3 separate regions of the Homo sapiens genome follow, and all the other regions are linked to region 3. The links are contacts of gene promoters, found by promoter capture Hi-C in blood cells and fetal thymus (Javierre and others, 2016). All regions are on one chromosome and are shown on one strand. Each heading gives the region's core, a stretch centred on a gene start or on the middle of the fragment in contact. The rest is flanking DNA. Distances are from core to core; before and after follow the strand shown. Region 1 has its middle 68 kb from the start of LINC01986. Region 2 has its middle 90 kb from the start of LINC01986. Region 3 holds the start of CHL1 (cell adhesion molecule L1 like).

What was found. The method cuts DNA at HindIII sites, captures the fragments that hold promoters and counts their contacts. A CHiCAGO score of 5 or more calls a contact.
Region 1: a fragment that was not itself captured here is called in contact with the fragment with the promoter of CHL1 in region 3 in 2 of 17 cell types (naive B cells and total B cells); the score reaches 9.2 in naive B cells.
Region 2: a contact is called between a fragment that was not itself captured here and the fragment with the promoter of CHL1 in region 3, in 1 of 17 cell types (naive B cells). The highest score is 5.2, in naive B cells.

The regions. Positions count from the first base shown.
Region 1 is chr3:78,857-81,567 of GRCh38, reverse strand. No RefSeq gene overlaps it. Among named protein-coding and RNA genes, the nearest start is that of LINC01986, 68 kb to the right of the region's middle. The HindIII fragment of the contact is 427 bases long and covers 1,044-1,470 here.
Region 2 is chr3:100,297-102,996 of GRCh38, reverse strand. No RefSeq gene overlaps it. Among named protein-coding and RNA genes, the nearest start is that of LINC01986, 90 kb to the right of the region's middle. The HindIII fragment of the contact is 8,634 bases long and covers 1-2,700 here.
Region 3 is chr3:195,308-198,407 of GRCh38, reverse strand. It overlaps CHL1 (cell adhesion molecule L1 like), which reads right to left and starts at 1,645. Exons shown (of 28, transcript NM_006614.4): 1 at 1,345-1,645. It overlaps CHL1-AS2 (CHL1 antisense RNA 2), which reads left to right and starts at 1,067. Exons shown (of 4, transcript NR_144487.1): 1 at 1,067-1,441; 2 at 1,900-1,952; 3 at 2,368-2,412; 4 at 2,494-2,650. The HindIII fragment of the contact is 3,854 bases long and covers 1-3,100 here.

The sequences.
Region 1 (2,711 bases), core at 8-2,507, 120 kb after region 3:
TAAAATGTTCCTCAAAGTGTGGTTCATGAACATTTGCCTGAGAAGCACCTGGGAGGCTGATTTTTTAAGACGTATATTCTTGAGTGATTTCTGCTTCCCGGCAATATACAGTAAAGATGCTTTTGCCAATTCCTCCCATAAAGTACAGCTAAAAACAACAGCAAACATGAGAAAACTCTGAGATGTGAAGAGAAACGCACAGACTGGCTAGATAATTAAGACTCCAGGAATGACATCGGTGAGTTCCCTGGATTCTCTTTTTTGCCTCATGTCTTGGAGCTGAAGAAGGTGGCAACCTGAAAATGCCAATTAGAAACAAAAATGGCCCCAGCAAAAGTTTATTCACTGTAGCCAAAGGACCAGGAAACGGGCAGCCTGTCAACATACAAAATATTTAGATAATAACCACTCTGCCCCAACTAATACCACAGAACTGTGGTCCCATCCCCAACAGTAAAGGCCACAAGGAAAGTCTAGACTCCCTCCCCCACCTATAACCAGGTGCTTCAACACCTCCACTGGGGTGCTGCCAAAAAAGGCCAAGTAGGATCCAGGACTTTTATTCCCCACTGGCAAGTAATGAAGCTCACGGCGCCATGGTGTCAGTGGAGAACATTTGGGGAACTGGAACTCTTAATTCCACCAAGCAGTAATGGGGAGCCCTACCCCCTTGGGTGTCAACAGAGACCAAGTGGGAAAGCTAGACTTCTACCTCCACTTGGCAGGAATGTGTTAGTATCCTCCTCTTCCTAGACATGCTGGACTTATGTCAGGGAAAGCCAGCTAAAGCAGAAGGTTTAAATAAGATCTAGAGCCTCAAAACATAATATGAAAATGTCCCCGTTTCAATAAAAAAATCACTCATCATACCAAAATCCAGGAAGACCCAAACTGAATGAAAAAAGGAAAATCAATAAATGCCAATATCAAGATGACCAGAGATGTTTAGAATTATCAGATGAAGATTTTTGAAGCTGCCAAGATAAAAAATGCTTCAGAGAGTAATCATGAATGTACGTGAAACAAATGAAAAACAGAAAGCTTCAGTAAAGAAATAAAAGGTATAAAGAAGACCTAAATGGAAATTTTAGAACTGAAGAACAGTATAATGGGAATAAAAACCTCAGTGGGTGGGCGTGGCTACAAAAAGGAGAGCTAGAGGATAAGATCAGGGCCCTGAAAGATGGAACAGTAGAAATTACCAAGTTTAAACAACAGAGAGAAAAGAGACTGAACAAAAGTGAACAGAGTTTCAGGGACCTGTTGGACTACAACAGAAGGTCCAATATTCACGTCGTTGGAGTACTGGAAGGAAACGAGAAATAAGAGCTGAAAAAGTACTCAAGCAAATAAGGGCTGAAAACTTTCAAATTTGGCAAGAGGTATCAACCTACACACCCAAGAAACTGATTTCACACTGAACAGAAAAGGCCCAGAGAAATCCATGCCAAGTTGCAATATAATTAAGCTTCTTAAAACTGAAGACAAAAGAAAAAAATCTTGAAAGCTGCCAGAAAAAAAATGGAATTTTTATCCATAGGCAAAAGAACAATTCGAAGGACAGCAGATTTCTCCTCAGAAACCATGGATGCCAGAAAAAAATGACAAAATAGTTTTCTAGTCTTAAAAAGAAAAGATTTGTCAACCCAGAAACCCACAGCCAGTGAAAACATCCTTCAGGAATGAAGAGGAAATCAAAACATCATTAGATGAAAAACTAAGAGAATTTGTCATCATCACACCTACTTTAAAAGAGTGACTAAAAGATGTTCTCTAAGTAAAATTTTTTAAAAAAGGAAATTCGAAAAATAGAAAAGAAAGAAAAGCATGGTCAGCAAAAATACAAATAAATACATTAGATTTTTCTTCTTCTCTTTGAGTTTTCTAAAGTATGTTTGAAGGCTGAAAGAAAAATTGTGACACTGATGTGGCTCTAGATGTATGTAGAGAAACTATCTAGGATAATTATATCATAAATGGGGGAGGGTAAATGCACACAATGGGAGCTAGAGGATGTGGGCGTTGTATCAGGAAGGCAATAATAGCTTTTCCCAAACACCCTGGAAGATTTCTAATTGTGTCTCGCTGGTAAGAACTCTACCACCATGGGCACCTAGAGGCAAGAGAGTAAATGCTTTTAGTCAGGCACATGGATTTTGTTAAAAATAAAAAAGAGAAGGATAACTATTTGGTGGACAATAAACAGTATCTGATACTAACTCTGAGAGCTGGTGAATGAGTTATATAAGATACTATTTTTAAAATGCTCAGTGCAGAGTCTAGCCCATATTACTATTTATACTAAATAAATGTCTCTTTCCTTCTTTGATGGAAACATATAAGAGCACAATATTGTATTTCAGAGATCCAGAATAGACCTAATTTTTCATTTTCAAGAGTAATTTCAGATCTTTTCAAGAAGATATTAAGGGTTTTGATGTATTTTCTGTCTTATTGCCTGAGTATACGCAGTAAAAGTTGACAGTTAAACAGTAAATAATGGGTAAGATAAAGGGTCATGCGTTCAATAAGTTTAGAAATGTAAACCAATATCCAACATGTATACTGGAACCGCAGAAAGGACAGTGGTGATGCAGGAAGAAAAAAGCCCTGCTATGTCAATTAGAAGCAAAATATAGAGCTAGAGGCTTCCCCTCAATGGAGGAGAGTTTATCCACCCCAATTCCTCTCCCAGGTATACACTGTGGTTT
Region 2 (2,700 bases), core at 85-2,584, 95 kb after region 3:
AGGAGCTGGATATAAAACATTTACCTACACTGCTGATTGTATTATACTATTTTAGAGTTGCTTATGTAACAGCCCATATCCAATAATTTGCCCCTCAGGTGAAGGGGTTGTATTTTAATGTCACCTTTTTTCGAGCTGGTGTGTAGCACAGTGCCTCACACATAGTGGGTACTTGGTAAATTATCCTTGCACAAATGAGTGAATATTTTCCAGTGACTTTCACAGCTTTTACAACATTTACTTCCATTAGTCTAACAGGTTCAATGTTTGTAATATCACTACAGTGGGTTGCCAAGGAATAAAACGCCTGAAGTCTGAAGTGCAGTTCTTTGCTTCTCAGCTGAATTGATTCACAGAGAAGAAACACACCGCATATCAAGTACCTCACTCTTATATTTACCTGCAAGGTCTGGAAGGATGCTAGCTCTATAGGGAACTAAATGAAGTCTATAGCCCTCAAAACAAAGTGATTACAAATGCACAAGTAAAATGCAAACATTTGAGTTACGTATGCATGTTTGCCTTTATTTTATCTTACTTCTTTTGTTTTCTTTCTTTCTTTCCCCTTGTCCTGTTCTCTGTCTTAGCCTGGCTTTGAAGTGATCTAGCCATTAAAATCCTAGGTTCCTGTTGTAAAGTAGAATCCTTTCCAAAATATAAAAACAAAATCTCACTCACTTCTTACAAATGATGATGAGGATGGTAATCATGATGATCGTGATGATAATTGAGTCCAGAAACTTACTGTTTTCCTACAATTTCTAGATAAAAAAATTCCAGAAATAATTTTTATCCAAGATTAACACAGACTTTAGAATCTGAAAGACTGTTTACACATCCCAGCTCTGCACTGACCAAGTATGTGATCTTGGGACTCAGTTTTCTTTTCTGTAAAAAGATACAATGCACTTACCTCAAAGAGAGAAATTAAACAATGTATTGAAAGCACTCTGCATGATTTTTTCAGCCTCTGGCCTACTCCTTTTAAGTTAATATATTTTGAAAGAATGATGGAAGGGGAAACAACAAATAGCTCCTGAAGGTTTGAACATTTATCCACTTTCTTCCAGATCTGTCCAGTAGACATTTCTGTGACAGCAGGAATGTTACTGATCTTCGCTGGACAATGTGGTAGCCTTGTGTCACATGTGACTACTGAGTACTTGAAATGTGGCTAGGGTAACTGAGGAACTCAATTTTTAATTTTACATGAACGTAATTCATTTACATTGAGTGTTCACACCTGGCTTATGACTAGCATGTTAAAGCGCAGCTGCATTATCAACTATAGAAAACTAGATTATATAAATTTTGGACACAGAACAAAATTTTCAGAAAGTATTGCCCACTTTTGGAATAACAAAATAAATAATCTTCTCCTAGAGAAGAAGCCCTTCTCTTGGTTCTTTGATCCTGATCTCACTCACGATATTGGAACTGCTTGTGGAGTTTCATGCTTTGAGGAGAAAACCTTGTGTACTGTGATGATAGCCATCCTTTAAAGACCCCACCTGCCTGCCTGGATGTATTTAAGCTCCAAGGATTTCTGAGAAGCACTGGGATCACCAATTAGGACAGGGTGAAGGTGAATGGAGTTAGAAGGTCATGGGTGGCCAGTTCTGCAGTCATCAAGCCTTTTTCAGAGGTCAAATGTGGCTGTGGTTAAAGGTTGACACAGTTATGCTGTGTTTGCTGCTGATAAAATGACCCAGAAACCCCACCAGCTTCATTTGCTTTTAAGTATTCTATGAGGGGATATCATAAATTTATGTTTAGATAGTGCCCTAATGAGGAGAAAAGATGCTACATGCATTTAAAATATGTTGTAATTCAAAGAAGTGTTTTAAACATTGATTTTTGAAAACATTTAAACCATTAAATCATAAAGCATAGGACCCTTAGAAATAATTTAACTCAACCCATTTGTTTTCGAGTTGAAAAGGCTGAGAAGTGACCAGCTCAGGGACAAAAGATAGCAGCATAACTAAGAGTAAAAGCCTGGTTTGCTGGTTCTCAGTGCTGGCTCTGCTAGACCCCATAGAAGTTGCAAATAGAAAAAGGGGAGGGGGGAAAAGATCCATTTTGAAAGACTGCTGGAATGTCAAAACACTTGTAGGCTAAGAAAAGAGTTATATGTAAATGTATTATAATGAGATACTTTGGAAAAGGGGGGTAACATTTATGTATTTTCCTTAATTTTGCCCCCCAGTCCTGTCTCCCCAGGCACTCGTGGCTTCTGATTCGCTCAAAAGACATTAATACCCTCTTAGAGTAAATTAGGCAGGTTGGAAAATGACATTAACTCTTTACACTCCCCAGAGAGGTCATTTGGTAAATCCTTGCATCAGAGCACTAATTTTCTTCCTGGTGTGTGGCGAATGCCCTGGCGGAAAAGGCACCTGTCAGTGTGAGGGTGAGGTCAGGGACCACATTATTGGGACTTTATTGCTAAGGAGATGAGCCGAAGCCTGCTACATGTAAATCAAAGAGTTAACAATGGGCCAGGTGGCCACTCTGGCTTTGTCATCTCAGGGTCACAACTGGACAGGCTACAATCTGTCATCTTTCAGACACTTGGTTTTGGCAGCCACTGTATTTTGCAAACCATCATTTGTGTTTCTGTAAAGCCCGCAACATGGTATTACACAGCCTGAAATCACTCAATTTTCAGGACTCATTCTACTCCTACCATCTAATCTT
Region 3 (3,100 bases), core at 396-2,895:
ATCGCCACGCGCACGCGCAAATCTCCCCGCGCACGGCGCGTTCCCGCGGGAGCGCGCCCTCGCGCACGCGCCTGGCAGGGCAGCCGCTCGCCGGCCCTGGGGCTGCTCCGCGGCTCCCACGAGCGGGACTGGACGCCGGCGCCCTTCGAGGAGGGGCTGAACCTGGGGCGCCCTCTCTGCCGGGCCACCCAGCCCTGCCGACGCACACCTGCCCTCCGCCGCCGGCCTCCCACCCCTTCCCCGCCCGCCTTCCCGCCCAGCAGCCCAAACGCCCACCCTGCGCTCCACCCTGCTGGCCGTCTGGGGCGGGGGTACCTGGGCCCGCGCGGCTGCTGCTCCTCCGGCCCGTGGTTTTTCGCAGGAGTTCCCCGGCCCTGCCCCTGGCTGAGACACTGTGGCTCGCAGCGAGCCCGGAGAGTGGGAACGGAGGGGCTGGCTTTCCCCAGCCTCCCGGCTCCAATCCCTGCTCCCCAAATTAATCACTTTCTCCGTGCTGCCTCCCCACGCACACTCACACTCCAAAAAAAAAAAAAAAGCGAGAGAAAGAGAGAGGCACAAAGAGGAAGAAGGGACCATCCGCGACCGGCATCTCCAGCCCCCCGGGCTCCGCTACCAGGAGCCATGGCAACCACGGCCCCCGGCGCGCCCTCTCGCCCCTCGGCGGTCTGGGGAGGTGGAGCTCTAGCCCCTCTCTGGGTTTTCGTGCTCCCCAACCCCACAACCCCACGGTCCATGGATTCCCCGCTCCAGGCTGGCGGCATTTTCGGAACCCCCCCCGGGCTGGGATCTAGAATCCTCTCCTGAGAGGAGGAGCCACACAGGGGCAGTGGACTGGGGGGGTCTGAGCCCCACACACCAGGCGGTGTCCAGGGGAGCGAGGGGCGCGGTGGGAGACAGAGGCCGGGACTGACCCCCAGACCAGCTAGACCTCGGAGCCCCACCCGAGAGAGGGCGGAGATCTACGGGGGGGTCTGGAATCCTCCTCAGAGAGCAGCGAGGGATGGGGTGGCGGAGGCTGGAAGCGGGAGGGCCAACCTACCGGCGGCCGGCGGGCGTGAGTGGGACCCGGCGGATTCGGGCGCCCGGTGTGCTCCGTCGACTGACCCCGAGCTGTCCGAATCCGGCCTCGGCCACCGGGGGCGGGGCGTGAAAAGGGGGCGTCTCCTCCCGGGTGCAGGCTGAGGGGCCCGGACCACCCCCACTGCGGACGAGGGACCCTGACCGCGCCCCGCTTCCTTTCCATAACGAGTGGACCCCTCCCGGAGCACCTTCAGCCCTTCCTCCACGGGAGACCCCCCCAGCGCCGGCACGAGAGATGCCAGCGGACCCCCACCCCTGACACACCTGCGCCGCCTCCGAAACGCGATCTGTCCGGCGCCTCCCCTCGGGCGCCTTCTCCCCCGAGCCGGCCGGGAGCCGGGACGGGGGCGCGCAGGGTCCGGTAAGCTCTGGGCGGATCCAGGGAGGGTCTCGCCGGCCGCTGCCCGCTGGTCCGCACCCGGGGCTGTCCGCGGAGGTCCCGCCCGTCCCCTCCCGCCGCTGGCTCTCTGGCCGCGGGAAGGCTGGAGCCGTTCTGGCTGGCACCGGGGTCTACGCCCTCCTGCCGGAGGCTGGCTCTCGCCTCTGCTCCCTTCCTGGGTTCTGCGCCGCCACCCCTCACCCACGCCGCTTATCTTCCCTCCCTTTGCACGCTCCCGCGGGACAGGGAGAGTTACAGGCTTCAGACTTTATCTCGTTGTGGAAAGCAAGAGACCAAGCCAAAAACTTTGGTCGTGCTTTTCAACATCTCCGGTCAAAAGAGGTAGGATCCCTGCTCGTTTATCTGCAAAAGCGACATTTAAAAGAAACGCCCCCCACCCCCTCCCCGATGGTTTCACTCGGTTCATGTTGCACACACAGGTCGCCAATCTGCTTTTCTCCCATTGCTGCGTCTTAGAGGGGTGTGGTGCCATGTACGTATTAAAAATTGTCTTCTTGCTTTCCTTCATTTAAGGGCGTGGTGGGGCTTGCTATTGAATTTACAAAATATGCTACGACCATCCGCTGTCAAATTGTGCATGCTTAAATTTACAGATCTTCTACTATCTCACAATTTTTGCCCTAATACAGAGTCTATAATGTTACCACATCGTTTCGTAACGTTTTTCCTACTTATCCTTTATTAATTCACTATTGGAGAGGAAAGCCTTCTGTACTCATATTCAGTGCAAAAAGCCAGTTCTGATGCCTTATGAATCCACAAACACATAAAAATATTTTAGGATTCCAAAATTCATATGGAAAAATTATAATTTTTAGCACTACATTTGATTTATATGCCACTTTATTTTTTTTCCATTATGGTGGTATTTTCCAAAATTTTTACAGGATACCACTTTTGAAAATCCTGTTGAATGCAAGTCCTCTTTGTTGGTAAGAGAATTATTGACTTCTAATTTTTACTCCACTAAGGCTGTGAGATTGACCTTACAGCCTCGTTTTGTTTTCATCTAGCTCATTGAACAATGAGGATATTTAGCTCCCCTCAGAGCTACCCTCAGAGTTGGATGAGCTATCCTCAGAGTTGGATGCCACCACCGGGAGCAGCAAAAGCGAAGGCAACTCATGATTCTGCCTCAGAAGCAATCGAATAAAATATTTTGAAAATGAATGAATGGACTTTTAAATTTTAATCATCGCTAACCTTGGGGCCTCGATTCTGTCAATTTGTGTGTGGGCACAGTTCTTACCAACTGCCTTGGCAAATTGTGAATGCAAGTGAGGGCAGGATTTGTCCTAAGTTTAAATTGTACTGCTGGAGTGATTTCTTTTGCCTGAGGCATCATTATTCACGTGGCATGTTTTCTAAAGTAGAAACAAAGATAGAATATTAAATAAAATTCCAACAGGGGGAAATACTCTGCCTGTAGAAAAACATTTCCAAGGTCAAGGAACCACAAGAGAACAACAAAGCGAAGTTGGTCTCAGGAGTTTACCATCTTCTGGGTGAACAAACATCAGCTGAGCAAGGGACTCGGAACTCCATTTTGGCCAGATGAACAGAGTACTCTTAAATATATAGCTCCTTCTTTCTTGGTGATTTGTTTCTTGACAATAGAAT